Regions from separate parts of the Homo sapiens genome. Here regions 2, 3, 4, 5 and 6 are each linked to region 1. The links are contacts of gene promoters, found by promoter capture Hi-C in blood cells and fetal thymus (Javierre and others, 2016). All regions are on one chromosome and are shown on one strand. Each heading gives the region's core, a stretch centred on a gene start or on the middle of the fragment in contact. The rest is flanking DNA. Distances are from core to core; before and after follow the strand shown. Region 1 holds the start of JAM3 (junctional adhesion molecule 3). Region 2 overlaps GLB1L3 (galactosidase beta 1 like 3). Region 3 overlaps ACAD8 (acyl-CoA dehydrogenase family member 8). Region 4 overlaps VPS26B (VPS26 retromer complex component B). Region 5 overlaps IGSF9B (immunoglobulin superfamily member 9B). Region 6 overlaps NCAPD3 (non-SMC condensin II complex subunit D3).

The links. Contacts are between HindIII fragments. The CHiCAGO score rates a contact against its expected background, and 5 or more counts as called.
Region 2: a fragment that was not itself captured here is called in contact with the fragment with the promoter of JAM3 in region 1 in 3 of 17 cell types (fetal thymus, naive B cells and total CD8 T cells); the score reaches 5.4 in fetal thymus.
Region 3: a contact is called between a fragment that was not itself captured here and the fragment with the promoter of JAM3 in region 1, in 1 of 17 cell types (total B cells). The highest score is 6.4, in total B cells.
Region 4: a contact is called between a fragment that was not itself captured here and the fragment with the promoter of JAM3 in region 1, in 2 of 17 cell types (naive B cells and total B cells). The highest score is 6.2, in naive B cells.
Region 5: a fragment that was not itself captured here is called in contact with the fragment with the promoter of JAM3 in region 1 in 1 of 17 cell types (non-activated CD4 T cells); the score reaches 6.9 in non-activated CD4 T cells.
Region 6: a contact is called between a fragment that was not itself captured here and the fragment with the promoter of JAM3 in region 1, in 7 of 17 cell types (naive CD8 T cells, naive B cells, fetal thymus and 4 more). The highest score is 7.8, in naive CD8 T cells.

What each region holds. Positions count from the first base shown.
Region 1 is chr11:134,067,667-134,070,422 of GRCh38, reverse strand. It overlaps JAM3 (junctional adhesion molecule 3), which reads right to left and starts at 1,351. Exons shown (of 9, transcript NM_032801.5): 1 at 1,264-1,351. The coding sequence starts at 1,339. RefSeq lists a silencer at 1,357-1,546. The HindIII fragment of the contact is 4,850 bases long and covers 1-2,092 here.
Region 2 is chr11:134,281,890-134,284,645 of GRCh38, reverse strand. GLB1L3 (galactosidase beta 1 like 3) reads right to left here. Exons shown (of 20, transcript NM_001080407.3): 5 at 2,526-2,621; 6 at 801-909. Among named protein-coding and RNA genes, the nearest start is that of GLB1L3, 6.9 kb to the right of the region's middle. The HindIII fragment of the contact is 1,534 bases long and covers 612-2,145 here.
Region 3 is chr11:134,258,007-134,260,762 of GRCh38, reverse strand. ACAD8 (acyl-CoA dehydrogenase family member 8) reads right to left here. Exons shown (of 11, transcript NM_014384.3): 4 at 2,139-2,248; 5 at 1,679-1,755; 6 at 1,018-1,155. Among named protein-coding and RNA genes, the nearest start is that of ACAD8, 5.8 kb to the right of the region's middle. RefSeq lists a silencer at 133-182. The HindIII fragment of the contact is 4,357 bases long and covers 1-2,756 here.
Region 4 is chr11:134,232,248-134,235,003 of GRCh38, reverse strand. It overlaps VPS26B (VPS26 retromer complex component B), which reads right to left. Exons shown (of 6, transcript NM_052875.5): 2 at 1-107. Among named protein-coding and RNA genes, the nearest start is that of VPS26B, 9.0 kb to the right of the region's middle. The HindIII fragment of the contact is 6,943 bases long and covers 1-2,756 here.
Region 5 is chr11:133,902,451-133,905,206 of GRCh38, reverse strand. It overlaps IGSF9B (immunoglobulin superfamily member 9B), which reads left to right. Exons shown (of 20, transcript NM_001277285.4): 20 at 1-2,756. Among named protein-coding and RNA genes, the nearest start is that of MIR4697, 5.2 kb to the right of the region's middle. The HindIII fragment of the contact is 7,551 bases long and covers 1-2,756 here.
Region 6 is chr11:134,205,682-134,208,437 of GRCh38, reverse strand. It overlaps NCAPD3 (non-SMC condensin II complex subunit D3), which reads left to right. Exons shown (of 35, transcript NM_015261.3): 8 at 1,706-1,839. Among named protein-coding and RNA genes, the nearest start is that of NCAPD3, 17 kb to the left of the region's middle. RefSeq lists a silencer at 854-913. The HindIII fragment of the contact is 8,331 bases long and covers 1-2,756 here.

The sequences.
Region 1 (2,756 bases), core at 102-2,601:
TTGTTTTCCAAAATCTGTCCACCTTCACTCCTAAACAGTCCCTCCGTGTTTTAATTTGTATATTCTGGAAAACATCATGGGATGACAGTGGCAATTCAAACAATAAAATAATCTAAGAACCGAAAAAGGTCCTGGTCTGGTTACCTGCGGATGGCTGCCAGGGGAAGAGTGTGGTGTCCTGCTTTAGGTAAATATGAAGTTGAGGCTTCACTACTTAGAATGCAGCCTTGGAAAGCAGACTAGACTTGACTCTGAAAATGGATTAATGAAACCTATCTCACAGAGCTGCTGAAAGGAGTAAACGAGATAATGGCTCCAAAGTGCCTAGTAGACAGTACAAGCTCACTAAAGGAAAGCTATTTTAGTCCTCTGTACAACTGTCCAGGAAAATGTGGATCTAATGAGAATTCCAAACAGAGGGAAAGAAAATGCACAAAACTATCAAGTTTATTAGTGTGTCTTGATCAAATGCCCCGAATGCTATTTCCGGATAAGAGTCTGCGTGGTCTCCTCGGCCAGGCCAGAGACAAAAAAGGTACTGGATTGATATCCATTTTATTTCTGTAAAAGAAAAGCAGTTCCTTTGTGTCGAGTCAAATGAACTGCAGATCCCCAGAGGGCTGTGACCAAGCAGCCCGCCAGGCCTCGGAGCTCTGCCTCGCCGGTCCTCAGCTACGTCCCCCGCTCACCGTCCCTTCTGGAGAGCACAGCACTGCTGCGCAGGGTCTTCCAGCAAGTTCCAGCGCCCACGCCGCAGCTGCCGCGCTCCCTCCAGAGGGCCGTGCCCACCGCCCGGGAGGGGTCCACCCCGGGGACGAGCCCACCGCCCAGCACAGGACCCCGCCTGGGAGGAGCCCACCCGGGGGATGAGCCCACCGCCCAGCACAGGACCCCGCCTGGGAGGAGCCCACCCGGGGGATGAGCCCACCGCCCAGCACAGGACCCCGCCCGAGAAGAGCCCGCCCCCGGGGTCCGACGGCTGTCCGGGACCGACTCACTGCCTGGGACGGGCCCCCCATCCCAAATTAGCTCCCCGCCCCGGTCCAACTGCCGGGCGTCCCAGGGCCCCCGCCCTAGCCAGGCCCGAGTCCCAGCCCTGGCTGCGGGGACGCGGGCGCGCGCCGCCCCTCCGGCCCGGGACCCCGGGAGCCCTCGGAGCCAGGACCGCTATCCTCGCCCGGACCGGCTCCAGCAGCTTCGGCCCGCTCTGCTTCCGTCGCCCCCAGACCCTAGTCTCCCAACAGCGGAAACGCGCAAACTCACCCCTGAAAAGCAGCAGCAGGAAGAAGTCAGGCAGCCGAGCGCAGAGCCGGAGTCGCGGTGGCCGCCTCAGCGCCATGTCGAGGGTTGCTGAGGGGCCAGCGGCAGCGCGGCGCGGCTTGTAGTCCCCGCGCGCATGCGCCCAGCCTGCCAGGACCCTGCGACCCGCCCCAGTTACCATGGCGACCGCCGGGCCCAGCCGAGCCGGCACCATGGTGACAGAGGAAGCTGAGGTCTAGCTGCTTACGGATGCAGCGATGCTCTGGACCGGCACATGGGTTCTCTTTCAATGAACTTGGCGGGAGGAGAGTAAAGAAGTATGTACAAGAGTGAAGCAGGGTATATTTCCATAGCTATAGAATAAATCCATCACAACAGGTCGGAGAAGGAACACTCCTTTAAAATTTGGGAAATAAAGTATTTCTTATTTTACAAATAAGGATGCAGCCCAGTTATCTTGGAAGCATTATCGCCTTCACATCTTTTGGGCCCCCAATTCCAAATTGATGGAAGGAAAAGAGCTGAAATCTGCTTAAAACATAAGCAATACATACATTATACAGCATATAAAAGTGATGTCTTGCTAAAATAATTTGTTTATGTGGTAGATCAAAAGCATGATGGCATACCCAATAGTTTATTCTGCAGAAAAGCAGACTAATTATTTGCTCTGATTTCTGAATACTGGGAGATAGTAAAACCAGGGAAGAACAGGTAAGATGAGGACAAACAGGAAAAATGAAGAGAAGGATAAATTAAAGCAGAAATTAGATCTAAAAAAGCAAGAGTATTTAAAGTCTCACTTAATACTATGGAAAATACTTGAAAAGCTTGTATTTTAGCAAGTATAGAAAGTACACCTCCAATGTTCCCAGAAACAGCAGTCTAGCAACAGAATTCTGAATATAATTGTTAGTAAAATAAGCCAGTTTCCAACTAATATTTTTAATGTTTAACTTTTTCATATACTCATGCTACTTTTTTAGTATTTTTAGTTTTCATGCAAAATAGAAGTATATTTACATATTATGTATACCAAATTTATATATGTAAAAGCCGGGAAACGTGAAATAGATTGAGATTGTTGCCAAGAATATGCTTCAGTTTCCATCACTGTATAATCTTCTTTGTAAATCTTTATAACTGCTCAGATCTTTATGTTAATTGATTACCTTCTCAAAAATCTTATAAAGACAGAATAAAAATTAAAAAATAACTCAATTACCTACTATGATTCTGTCTTTCCTTTCATAAATCTTCTTTATGTTCCAGGTCACCATGCACTAAATCACAAGTAAAAGTGTGTAAAAGTTGTTTTATAATGGTGGCCTCTTTCCCTTTATCAAGCACAAAATCGAGAAATTAAAAAGAAGAAAATTCGTCTTATGCCCACTGACATTTTTTTCTGCCCTCTGTTTTCCCTATTATTCCCTTTAGCTCCTGGTCACATGGCCAGGCATATTTACCTAACTGAAGGAACTGTTTGGGTTACTTGG
Region 2 (2,756 bases), core at 129-2,628, 210 kb before region 1:
GTGATTCTCTTGTCTCAGCCAGCTGAGTAGCTGGGGTTACAGGCATGTGCCACCATGCCCAGCTAATTTTTTTGTATTTTTAGTAGAGATGGAGTTTCCCATGTTGGTCAGGCTGATCTCGAACTCCTGACCTCAGGTGACCCCCCTGCCTCGGCCTCCCAAAATGCTGGGATTATAGGCATGAGTCACCAAGCCTGGACTGAATACCTGTTAAATGAATTATGATACATCCCTACTAGGGAACAGTGTGCAGGCACTAAAAAGAGTGGCTGGTTTCAAATCTACGTATTTCAAGTAACAAAAGAAAAATGCCTGAGAGGCATAGACACGTGTGTATAATTTGCTTCTGTGCTGATAAAATCTCTAAAAAGAGACACAAAATCTAGTAAAATTGGTTGTCTCCTGAAAGGGCAACTAAATGGCTTTGGGACAGGGTGGAAGGTGAGATTTTTATCTGACCAAAAATTCATTTGTACCTTCTGAGTCTTTTTGCCATGTCAAAAGTGGAAAGAAGCAATGGGAAGATTGGCAAGCTTGAGGAATAGTAAGTTCATGTGGACAACCAGTCCCTGCCTTGTGTGATGAGTCTTTCTAGCAACCCTGGGGAAGCTTACCCGGACAACAAGGACAGGACAGGTCAGTGCTTCTGTCCTCAAGCCAAGGGTCCAGAACTCAAGGTTACAAGAAAGTCAACTCAATTGTTCATGGAGACTGCATGTGGCCTCTTCAGTGATCAAGCCAGAACAAACTCTTTCCCTAAAGGGCACGTAAGAAAGATGCAGGGGACAATTTGGCTTTACCTGGAGAGGAATCACTCTGGGAATCAGGTGGTCAAAATACTTCTCAACTGCTTCAATGAAGCTCTTGTTGGTTGTCCTCAACAGTAACCGGGGGTCTTGCAGGAGCCAGCTGGGGGCAAGAGGGGCGGGCTCAGGGTCTGAGACGGGTTGGGAGAGGGAAGCAGGAGTGGGCTCAGAGCTGCCCCGGCTCGCCGCACATCTGCCCAGCTGCCTCACACCCCCGGTCCCGGAGCACTCGGGTCCTGGAAAGATCTGTGCCGCGTGAGACTTTCAGACCATTCTCACAGACTTGTGGGATTTGAAAGGAAACGGCCGCCTCCACCTCCAAGGCACTTCACAACTTCGGAAAGGCCTTCAGCTCTATTTGGTCTGACTGAGGGGCTGGCCTGTCAAGGCTCTTACAGCCATGTCTTAAAGAGCTTTTTCTTCTACCTTTTGGTGAACACTCTCTATTCTTTTTCAGTTTATTGAAAACATTTTTTGGTCAGGCGCGGTGATTCATGCCTATAATCCCAGCACTTTGGGAGGCCGAGGTGGGCAGATCACCTGAGGTCAGGAGTTCGAGACCAGCCTGGCCAACGTGGCGAAACTCCCGTCTCCACTAAAAGTACAGAAATTAGCCGGGTGTGGTGGCGGGCGCCTGTAATCCCAGCTACTCAGGAGGCTGAGGCAGGAGAATCGCTTGAACCCGGGAGGCAGAGGTTGCAGCAAGCCGAGATCGCGCCACTGGACTCCAGCCTGGGTGACGAGAGCAAGACTCCGTCTTAAAAAAAAAAAATTCTTGGGGACAGAAAAAATTTCCTTAGGCACAGTGTCACATTTCCACTAAGGGCTAAGGCTTCAGGCTCAGGGCAGGAGCCTACGTGCCAATGATACTCCACCCACTCCAGGTCACTGGGGAAGTGCCAGGCAGGCCTCCAGCCAAGCTATGCCGGGAGTCACTGCTTCCCGAAAACTCCACTCCCCTCAGCTCAGGCTTTCTCTGCCCCTGGAGAAAAGCAAAGACCTCTCTCTTCATCCTGGAGAAAAGCAAAGGCCTCATCTGACTCTGAGGTGCAGAGGTGCTCACTGGAGGCAGAGCCCCAGATTCCCCAGGAAGCCCTGCCCACCACAGGGGTGGCAGAGAGGAGTCTTGGAGTCTCACCCTGACCCTCAGCAGTCTGGGCTGGGGGCCAGAATCACAGAGGAGAGAACAAGGCAAAGAAAAGCAAGAGGGAAGGGAGGGGAGCTGAGGGTGGTCTCACTGCATGGAAAGGCAAGCCTTCCCCTCACAAAATAAGCGAAAGATCAGAAGTTTTCAAAACAAGCCGAGTCGTCAGAACCTTCCCTTGCAGGCCTTAAAGCTTCTGGTCCCTTTCTTCCCAGGGCATTTTGAGAAGGACAGAGGAGGCTACAGCCCCTCCTGCATGGGGAAAGAAGAGTGGGAGCCTCTTGTGGCCACCTCTCCCCGCGCACACCCTCTTGACCGCATGCCCAAGGCCCCAGGACCAACGTCTGGAGCTTCTCATCTGTGAATCGGGGATGACAACTGCACCCCGCCCCCCGCCACCGCAGTACCGCAGGCTTCCCACAAGACAACACAGGCACGGTGCGTGGCGTGGGGCAGCACACCTCCCATCGGCTCCGTGAATAAAGGTTACTTTCCTTGTTACTAGCTTGAAATTCACTTTTTTTAAAGCAAATACTTCACTAGAACCACGACTCTGGGACTGTAGCCCCGCTTACCTGGGCAAGCCCCCGAGGTCCATCTCACTGCAGATGTAGCGGCCTGGACGCAGAATCACCCACAGCCCGATCTCTGCGGCCATCAGGACGAAGGCCCTAGGGAGGTCCACATCGTCAGCCCCTCCCACGACGGCCCAGGATGAGGCCGGGTGGGGGCCACACGCATCACAGGGTGGAGGAGCTGCCTGGTGGGGCGAAGGGACGGCTCGGCCCCACCCCCAAAGCGTGGGG
Region 3 (2,756 bases), core at 67-2,566, 190 kb before region 1:
ACACCAACTGCCCCCAATTTCAGTGCCTCTAATTGAAAACCACAAACTATCTACAATCTCCCAGTTCCTCTCTGGCTCTGAAAATAGACTGCCTTTACATCATTTCCTTGCTCTCTTTTGTTGATAGGATAAACTCCATTTCTAAGCCTTTTACTGAAGGTCTTCCTGCCCAGGAGTTAGCATGGGCTTCACACACAGTAGAAGCCTAGGAAATGGTTGCTGTGTTACCAAAGAGAAGGGGATGCTAAAATGCATAATGCCTTACAGTTACAGAGGATCAGGAAGGATCCTGTAGGAAAATACAGAAACCCGAGGAGCTGTGAGAAAGAGGTACACTTAGGGGTCATTTCATTACCTGCCTTCTCTCACAAAGTCCCCCCATAACAGTACAAACTAGAGAGAGATGACTGCTTTGAGCATCTGGTCTAAAAAATCTGAATGGGTCTTGAGCCCTTATTACCAATTACGGTTACATGATCACAAGTCTCCTGTTCATGCCCTGGCCATGGCGGCTCTTAATCCTAGAAGTATCTTACTTTTCAAATTACTTACAGTACCTAAGTGTCCTTCTTGGGTTGCTGAAATACCCACAATCATCTCCAATGAGTTTTACTTTATTTTTAATCAAAGAAGCAAAAGGGACCACACGCCTTCCATTACTGAGACTTGTGGCCAACACCAGGTCTTCTCTAAGCGTCTCTTCCTGGAGCAACAAAGTGCACCAACGTAAGCAGCTGGATAAGGAACACAGGCCAAAAGCAGAGGCAGGAGAGGTCAGAACACTCACAGGTGGCTTGAAGAATTTACTGGCAAACATTGTCACTTTCCCCAGAGGCCTAGTGTTTAATAATGCCCTGTTGTATTTCATATGCTCCTGTTGAAAATCCTAATAGAAGCAACTGCTTCAAAGGTAGGTTAGCAAGTATGCAAACCTGTTTTCTGAAATAGAGCAGGAGTTGGGCTGGCAGGTGGCAGAGTCTCATAACCTGAATTGTTTCCTGTCCAACAGCCACTCACCTTTTTCTCCTTCTTGCCAAAGCTGAGGCCAGGGGTCCCCTTCTCAACAACTATGCATGAGATGCCCTTGGGGCCTGGTCCTCCTGTTCGGCACATGACCACATAGATGTCTGACTCACCAGCACCACTGATGAAGGCCTGTGGGGGTAAAAGGGGTGCAAAAGGACCAGGGAATGCTTGAGTTCTCACAGCGTCTGGGAACACCACTGGGTCCTCCTGACAATAAGGTCCAATGGCACAGAGACTGACAATAAGGTCCAATGGCACAGAGACTGACAATAAGGTCCAATGGCACAGAGACTGACAATAAGGTCCAATGGCACAGAGACTGACAATAAGGTCCAATGGCACAGAGACTGACAATAAGGTCCAATGGCACAGAGACTGAGGTGAGGTAAAAGGTCGCTGCAGTGACTGCAGATCAGAGAGGCAGTCCAAGAGAGTATAAAAAGGATAGACAAAAGTCAACGAAATGATCTGGAATCAGATTAGGAGAGATACAAACAGTGAGAATAAAGAAAGAGAAATGGGTCAGAGGTTCTCTTCCCAACACATAAAAATCCTATGGGAGTATTAACCCGCGGATGTGAAGGAACCAGAGGATGTCAGGAGGAAGCTGGGAACAATCTCCAAAGTGCTCTGGGAGGACGCACGCTAGTACCTTGGAGCCATTGAGGATGTAATGATCTCCCTGTTTCTTAGCGGAGGTCAGAAGAGAGGCAGCATCACTCCCACTTCCTGAGGAGGGATCAAAAGGCAGCAGAGAGAAGGTGAGAAAGTCAGTGAGGTCGAGGGAGCCCAGCACAATTCTATCTTCTAGGAAATCTTCTCTAAACAGACCCTGCTCAGAGTGTGTCACTGCAAAACCCAAGTGGCCAAAGGAACTCTCTGTACTTGGTGGAAACTGCTCATACCAGTCAGGCCACTGCCTACCTCCCAACACACCAGATAGGCTTCTTGGTCCTTGTGACATCAGGTCACAGGACTCTATTACTCCTCAACCAAACAGCTAGATAAACAGTGGCTCGACATGTCAAGAGGCTGGAAGGAGTGCTCGGTAATGCCATCTGAGCAGGAAGCATCTCTCCCTGCTATATCTCAGTGCAGTGTGGCAAATTCACCTGGTTCAGTGAGGCAGTAGGAAGCAAACTTCTCCATGGTACAGAGCGGTGGGCAAAATTTGTGCCTCTGTTCCTCATTTCCGAAGCTATCAATCATCCAGGCACACATGCTGATAGGTACACCAAGAAGAAAAGACAATGACAGAAATAAAGATGGAAAAGAAAAAAAAATGGGGGAGAAGGGGAAAGAGAACAAAGGGCAGGGCAGTGGAGTAAAGCAGAAGAGTGGGAAGGGGAGAGTCACAATTGGGAAGACTCTTTAAAGGCAAACGGTGGATTAAAACATATTCCTGGAATAAGGACTACCCAGAGATAACCAGGCTGAGGTACTTCTCACCAGCACGTTTGTACTACTTCTAGTTAGGTTACACGAGCCTCTAAAAATCAGAGTTATATGTGCTTTCTATTAGTAGTTTCTATTACTTCCTCAAATCACTGGCAGTTCCATCTTTGGATTGAGGAAAAGGGTGAGAGGGGCCGGGTGCGGTGGCTCACATCTGTAATCCCAGCACTATGGGAGGCCGAGGCAGGCAGAACACAAGGTCAGGAGTTTGAGACCAGCCTGACTAACATGGTGAAACCCCATCTCTACTAAATATGAAAAAAAATTAGCCAGGT
Region 4 (2,756 bases), core at 123-2,622, 160 kb before region 1:
GGTAAACTCAAAGTCGAAGGCCTGCGACTGGGTGATCTCTCCAGGCCGGGCCAGGTCCTTCACCAGGGACACAAACTCATGGTGGTTCCCGCGATCGTAGTAGAGTTCTGGTGAGAGACAGCGATGCGACGCCCTCCTTTATCAGACCCTGAGCTACACCGGGCCGAGTAGGGGGCTGGAGGCTGTAGGCTGGAGGGACTGCTTTCTGGAAGGACCTCCCTGCAGAACAGACCCCTTCTAGCCTTGTTTTCTTGACCTCTGCTCTTTCACTCCCTCCTTCTTCTCCAAAGGCTTTTCTGTCTTATATAGTGAAATCCCGTGGCAGAAAAGGAACCCAAAATAATCCTGCTCCAAGACACTCGGACACCATCTTTTAATAAGGGTAAGTCATGGGAGCCAATATAAGAAATGCCACACTTCTTTAAACAGCATTTAACACTTCCAACTTCCGAAAGGATATAGCTATTTAATCATATCATCCTTATAATAATAATCTTCTGACACAGCTAAGACAGGTCTTATCACCCCGTTTAAAAGACGATGGAAACCCAGGCACAGCATGCTTAACTGACTGGCCTGGAGTCGCAGAGCTGGCTGCAGAGCTGAGACTAGAGCAGGTCTCCTTCTAGACTGCGTCTATTTCTATCAGCTGGTATAATGCAGGTCATGACACAACCTACTTCACAAGGCTCTGTGTGAAGTAGCAGGGGTGATGTAGGTAAAAGACTTAGAACAGTATCTAGTACACAGCAAATACTCAAAAACATCGTTAGTAGCTGCTGTTATTACTCCAAAAGGAAGGCATGTGGCCAATCGAACATGGACATTTTCATGTTATTCCCTCCACTGAAATCAGGGGGTGTCGAACTTTAGTGTGCACCAGAGTCACTGAGAGAGCTGGTTAACACACAGATGGCTGGACTCCACCCTAGTGTTTCTGATTCAGGAGTCTGGGATGGGGCCTGAGAACTGGCCCTTCTGATAAGCTCCCCAGGACGGCTGCTACCACACTTCCACGCTTTAAGAAGCATTGCTCTAAATTTATCCTCTTCAGGAAATAGTTCTGGTATTTTTTGATGATAAGTTCATGCCACCCATTTGTCCTATATTATTTTATGTTTGCTTATATTCTATTTAAGTATAAGTTTTGCTACATACCTGGTCTCCCCCGCTCCCACTGTGGACTGCAGGCCCTTTAAAGATAAGGCCCACATCCCCAGCTCCCTGGTGCTTCCTAGAACCTGGCCCTGCACAAGTGAGCTTTTTTTGTTTGTTTTTTGAGACAGAGTCTCGCTCTGTCGCCCAGGCTGGAGTGCAGTAGTGTGATCTCGACTCACTGCAACCTCCGCCTCCTGGGTTCAAGCAATTCTTCTGCCTCAGCCTCCCAAGAAGCTGAGACTACAGGCATCTGCCACCACGCCCAGCTAATTGTTTTTGTATTTTTAGTAGAGATGGGGTTTCACCATGTTAGCCAGGATGGTCTCGATCTCCTGACCTCGTGATCTAACCGCCTTGGCCTCCCAAAGTGCTGGGATTACAGGCGCGAGCCACCGTGCCCGGCCGAGGTAAGCTCTTAATACTGACTGTGGCTATGCATGGCCACATTACAGTTCAAGCCACCACCCCTCAAGGATTCTGTGTTCAAGTCCCGTGCTAGACTGCAACTTGCAGCGGGGCAGATGAATTGGGAACACAGAGCAGGCGGAGCACACTCATTGCCTCTGTTGTTTGCTGCTTGGGGAGGAAGAGGCGAGTCCACAGACTGGAGTCTCTGGGATCCCACACTAGTGATGCCACTTCTGTATGAATTCACAGTGTATTGTGTGGCTGTGGCTTGTGGCTGATTTCCCGTGTAACTACAATCAGCCACAATCTTTTATTACAAACAATGACCTTCCTTTCCAAACACTCAGTGGTTTCAATAGTAGGCAGCATTCTGGTTAGTGAGTGATAATCCACAAAGCCTCAGAGTGGGAGGTGGCAGCTCCAAATTATGGGTGGAAAGTGAGCAATCCAGTAATTGTGCCCCCCCAATAAAAGTCAGAAGTATATGACAGGCAGAAGCGGAGCCGCGGCCAGCCCCGGGGACAGGGACTCCTCGGCTTACTCTTGTTGCATGAGTCCTGGTCGATGGTGTTGGCTTTCGTGTGGAAGCCGAAACCTTGACTTGGGAACCTGGTACCTCAGTTTCTAAGCACTAGATTCTGGCCATAGTTTCAGGGGACAGAAGCAGGCAGAGCAAGGCCCCAGTGTCCAGAATCAATGGTCCAGAGTCAAGAGGAAGAGGAGAAGAAAAGGATGGAAAAATACAGAAATGCGATCACACAGCCCAAAGGCAACATCAGGAATAAACAAAACAGAGAAGGCACAGAGAGCGCTCAGGCTGCCAGCATTGTGGAGCCTAGCAACAGTGCAGAAGGTTCGGCCTGCCCCAGCAGGGCACCTGGAGCAGGAGAAGTCATTCCCTGCATAGCATCACGTTCTCCCTAGTGCCTTTCCTCCTGCACACATGTTAATATCAGCTCTGACATCAAATGTCATGGAAGAGTGGCCAGTGTGCAGTCACAGCAGGGCTGGCCTGGCCTTTTTAATCTATCCTTTATAAGCCATCTGCAATACTTCTGCAAACACTGTGGGGCAAAGGGGCAGACACAGCGATGCTTCCTATTTGCCAGAAAGTTTGGTTTCCTCTTGCATAAATTAAAACAAAAATCCAAGGCTGTTCTCACGAGAGGTCTGGGCCCTAAAGAGATTGT
Region 5 (2,756 bases), core at 89-2,588, 170 kb after region 1:
AATCTGTAGAGAAACCTAGGAAAAGAAAAGCTAATGGTTAATCTTGGGCTTGCTTTGCTTGCATGTAAAGGAGCTTTGGGGGCACTGCAGGGATGGCTGGGGAGCTGCAGGAAGGGGCAGAGGGTGGAGCTGAGCGGGTCATGGAAGGCTCTGTTGAGTCCAGCCTCTGTGGTACTCTAGGAGCTGTGCACATTCCCACCGGGGCTTCTAACCCAGCCCTGCCTGGGTATCTTCTTCATATAAAGTGGATCTAGTAGGCAGTGTGTAGAGCCCCATGTGGCTGTGTGTGTTGCTTTAGGGAGAGGGCCAAAGAGGTGCCTTATTGGCCAGCTCTAGATTGACTAGGGTAATGGATGGGGCACTGGTGTTTCAGGAGGGGGAGTTGGAGAACTGGAGGGTGGAGGGGAGGCCTGTGTGCTTTGCCAGGTGTTGGTGAGGCTGGAAGGGGCACAGAGGGTGAGGTCAGGCATGGGTTAGGATGGTGAGACCACCCCAGGGGACACCAAGCCTCAGCATCTCTTTGAGTCATGTGATAACTTAGTTACTTGTAAGGGTGCAGGGTACACACTGGGGGATCATCCCAAGATGACGAAGAATGATTGCCTGGTGGGCATCTGGCTGGGGAGTGGTAGCCATGCAGGGCATGTGGGAGGGGGATCTGGGCATCAGGGACGGATTGTGGGGTGGGGTCCTGCATGTGAACGCAGACTGGATCTTGGGAGAGGTCTTGCTTCTTAGCTAGATCTTCCTTGCTTCTTCTAGAATTAGCCTCTAACACTAAGTGCCCAAACCAAACATGGACATCTTCTTTATATTGTATTTCAACTTCATTTGTTTTGGGGGCTCCTCAGGCCCAAAGCTGAGAAACTTGTCTTGAGATGCCCATCCTATCACCAGCTCTTCATCAGTGGAGAAGGAAGTGCCATTCTCATTTTCCTAAGCTGCAGCGGTGGGTTGCCTCTCCGTCCACAATCTGAAAATGTTCATGGGCCTTGGTGATGGTGATGGTGATAGAGAGGGGGAGCTGGAGCCTGACGTGCCTTCATCCCCCTTTCCTCTTGAGGTAGAGAGGCTTCCTTCCGGCCATGAAGTTGCACAGTGGCTTCGTGAGGCCTTCTCTTTACTTTCTCTTCTTTTGATAGGCTAAAGTCACTAGTCTGTGGTGGAGGTGGGAGGGCAAAAGAGTTTCACCTGAAACTCTTGGCTTGACCAGCCATTCTTCTCTCTTTAATGTCTCCAGCTCTGCTTCTTTTTAGATTAAGAGGCAGAATGAAAAATCTCTTCTTTAGAAGAAGTCAGTAAACCAAGGATCAAAGCCCAGATTGGACTTTCGCACTCTTACCAGCTTGCTGTTTGGCTAGGGGTACCAATCACCACCCTTCCCTCTGACTGCGAGTGAATCCACACTGGTTCAGAGCCTTATTTCTGGGTTCCTGTCTGTACTCTCAAAACCTTCTTTCAGGAGCAAGTATAATAACCCCACCAGATGTTCTGTGTGTTGGGTTGCCGAGAAGGTGGAAGTTTTTTTCAACCTCATTTTAAGCTGTTAGAAAAACACTCAGTAGATTGAATTTGGTCCAAAGACACCACCATCCCCTGAGGGATCCCATGTAGGATAAGGATAAATGAAGCATCCATACAGGGGTCATTAATGGCTGCTCACATCTTAGAGAAGGAAGAGTCTGGGTATCTTGGTTGCCATATACTCTGGTGGAACAGTGGCCAGTCATTAAAATCACATGGGTGTTGTCTTCTGCGGTGTAGAAGACAGTAGTAGTAGTTAGGGTTTCGGACGAGAGCTGGTGAAAAGCTACCGGCTTTGGAGCCCTGGCTGGGAGAGCTAGATTGGACAGTTTTAACCCCGTGGCTCAAATGCTCAGCTCCTGTCACTGGTCCTTGGTTGTCACCATTCCCATCACACTAGATGGGGACGTGAATGGCTGCCTGGGCCTGCCTTTCTTTCGGGTCTTGAAGAAGTGTGCTCCACCAATCCTACCTCTCTGTGGCACTGGATTTCCTGGATTTATTTTGCGAACTAGGGCAGGTTCTCCCTCGCCACCCCGTATACACACCAGTTAGCTTCCCTTCCCTTTTCCTTTCCCCACTTCTGTATGGCTCCAGGGATCGTGAACATGTGCGTGGTTTACGATGGGGAGGTGGTGGGAGGGGCAGGGAATCTCGGAGGGCAGGGGGTTGGGCTGGGGAGGTGACTTGCATTTTCGGCCTTAGAAATGCTGCGGGCATGCACGTGTGGGGTTTTCATATAAGCCATGGGAGGGGCGAGTGCCCAGCCCTCCTCACGCTGGTGGTAGAACCCAGGGCTTTGGCCTCCTTTTGGCATAGTGGTCTATGAAGCTGTATTTCTGGTGGAGGGATGAGCCTCCTCACGGTCATCTTGCAGTTCTTGAAAGGGTAGTTGTCAGCCACTCTATCAATGAGGTTTTATATGGCCTCCCATGAACAACGAGAGGTGTGCCATGGCCGACGGTGTCCTGGCAGGGCTGGAGAAGGGATTGTCTCATGTGTCCTTCTGCAGGCACCAGGTTGTCCCCCTGGTCTCTAACCCCCAGCCAGCTGTCTAGTCCAGTGTTTCTTTTCTGGATTCAGGAAGTAAGTGGGGTGTGTGTGTGTGTGTGTGGGGTGTGTGTGTGTATGTGGTGTGTGTGGTATATGTGTGTGGTGTGCATGTCTGTGTGTGGTGTGCATGTCTGGTGTGTGTGTGTGTTGTGTGTGGTGTGTGTATCTGTGTGTGGTGT
Region 6 (2,756 bases), core at 120-2,619, 140 kb before region 1:
CTATTGGTAGTTGTATTATTTGTGTTGATATGCTATGGAAATTTTGTAGGTTGTCACCCGTGGTCAGCATGGATACCTGGGTTTTGCCTCCAGGTTACCTGAACGCCACTACTACTAGAAACTTTGCAGTTAGAGTTAGTTGCGCATGATGCTGTTACTAAACTTAGATGTCTTAAATGAAACAATAAGATTTTGCAAAAAAATGTGTTGGACCAAGGTCATGTGGCTTTTGGTATCTGCGACGCGTTACCTTGCAGAGGCAGTAACCTGGTTACGAAGATATTTTTGGGGATGCTTGGGGGGTTCCGCACATCTGTGTTTGCTTTCTGACTTCACCACTTACTAGCTGTGGGTCCTTGAATGAGCCATTCACCCTGGCTAAAGCGTTAGATTTCACTTATGGACAAAAAGGACCAAAGTCTACCTTCTTTATCGATTTGTCACAGGATTAAATGAAGTTGAGCAGGCCGCCTACCGAGCACAATGCCTGTTGTTTAGAAACATTCGGTATTTTATAAGTTTAGTATCTTTATCACTTCTGTGTGCTTGAAATATGAATGTGATAACATTTACAGTAATGTTTTTAATTCGCATGCCCTTTTAAATATTTTAAACAATAACATAGGTGGGAAAATTCATCCCTTTAGGTCTACTGTGTCTCTAAAGATGGTTTTTTTTTTTTTTTTTTTTTTTTTGAGACGCAGTCTCGCTCTGACACCAGGCTGGAGTGCAGTGGCATGATCTCGGCTCACTGCAACCTCAGCCTCCCAGGTTCAAGTGATTCTCCTGCCTCAGCACCCCCTAGTGGCTGGGACTACAGGTGCGCGCCACCATGCCCAGCTAATTTTTGTATTTTTAGAGATGGGGTTTCACCATGTTGGCCAGGATGGTCTTGATCTCTTGACCTCGTGATCCACCCTCCTTGGTTTCCCAAAGTGCTGGAATTACAGGCGTGAGCCACTGCGCCCAGTCGGTATTTTTTTTTAATTGTGAAAGTACTGACTTGATGTCAGGCAATGTTGGTTTTTAGCCTTATTTTTAATTATTTGATCTTGGACAGCTCACCTTTGGAGCTTTTTTTAATTATCTGTGAAGTGGAAATTATACATGTCCTGCTTACATTATGGAATTGTTGTAAGGTTTAAAATTAAATGTATATTTTATATATATATAGTAAAATCTAGCTATGTAGATGAAAGTGCTTAATGCAATACCTACCACTTACTTGGTTTTCAGTAAATGTTTTATTTATTGGATGAATAAATTAATTAGTGACTATGTTATATGAGATAATATGTTGGAAAGTGCTTTGTAAACTGGAGGCAAAAAGCAGGTGTAAAGTATCGTTCTTTCCCCTTTTGAATAAGGGAACATTAGTAGCATTCTTTGCCCTATGTAAATGACAGTTAATTCCCTATTTGTCCTAAATTCTGGGTTATGATATGCAAAGGGTGGGGAGAGAAACTAGGTATTGTTTTTATCAGACATATCATCTGTCAGCCATTCTTTCACACTGTTTACATTGTGCATTTATTGTATCCCTGCTCATTGTTTAAGAAATATATCCCTAGTGTTCAGCCAGCAATTATGCCAGCCTGACCTACCTTCAGATGGCTTGAAATGGTTTACTACAGTCTGCATCACTATGTCTGAGACCCTTGTGTTCTCCATCCGATCTTAAATTGAATTTTCTTTTCTCTTCTAGGTCATCAGTTGTGTTTTCCATCAAATGCTCAGTGTAATATTAATGTTAGAAGTTGGTGAAGGATCCCATCGTGCCCCCCTTGCTGTTACCTCCCAAGTCATCAACTGTAGAAACCAGGCGGTCCAGTTTATCAGGTGAAGCACACAAATCGTGAATTTTCACCCTGTCAGTCTCCCTCAGTACTCTGGGCCCTGCACTAAGATTTCTGATACATGTAGACTTAAAATTTCTGGCCTGATGGTGGTTTTGGGGGTGAAAACCAAGCACTTCGTAGCTAATGTGCTTTATGTGTCTGGGTCTCTGTTGGTAGGCTCCCAGCTGGGGCACTGTTAAAGAGATAGGAATCTGCAGAACACGGGCCAGCGCCAGCCTCCAGCTTGTTTGCGCTCAATATGTGGGTCAGCCTCAGAGAGAGGATGGTGGCCTCTCCTCCTTTCCCTTGTCTGCTTCATTGCAGCCAGTTCACCTCTTTCCCTTTTCTGTTGCTCTCTACTTTGCAGCTCTTTGCTTTTGTTCTTTGCCACTTTCTTCTTGTTTCTTTGCACTTTTCTATTCCTTTCCCTCTGTAGAAATGACTTGAAGGAAAGGATTGAGTTGCTTTTTACCTCCGTAGCAATAAGTGTTAGACTACTTTTCCTCTCATGGGTCACTCAGCTTCACTTAAAAACTCTCATGCCTTAGTTTCACTGGCAAGGACATGTTTGCTGCGTTGTTGGCTTTTCCTTCCCTCCTTCACTGATTTTTGGCGTGCAGTGTGGAGGTGGTGCCGAGACATGGTGTGCATGTGCAAGTGTGTGCATGCCTTGGGTGTGCACAGTGTGCAGGGTAGTTGGAGACATGGGGTGTGTATGACGTCATCTTGTGACTGAGCAAATGTCTCTCACTAAGGACTTTTTAAAACATTAAGTAACTAAAATGTTTTAAGTGAAAACACGATCGTTTCGTTTTTTCCATGAGAGTTTCTCATATGCCAGTCGCAATAGTCTTCATGTAATGTTACAGATAAACATCACTAAAAATGGATCAAGTCTGGGCATTGTAGAAATTTCTT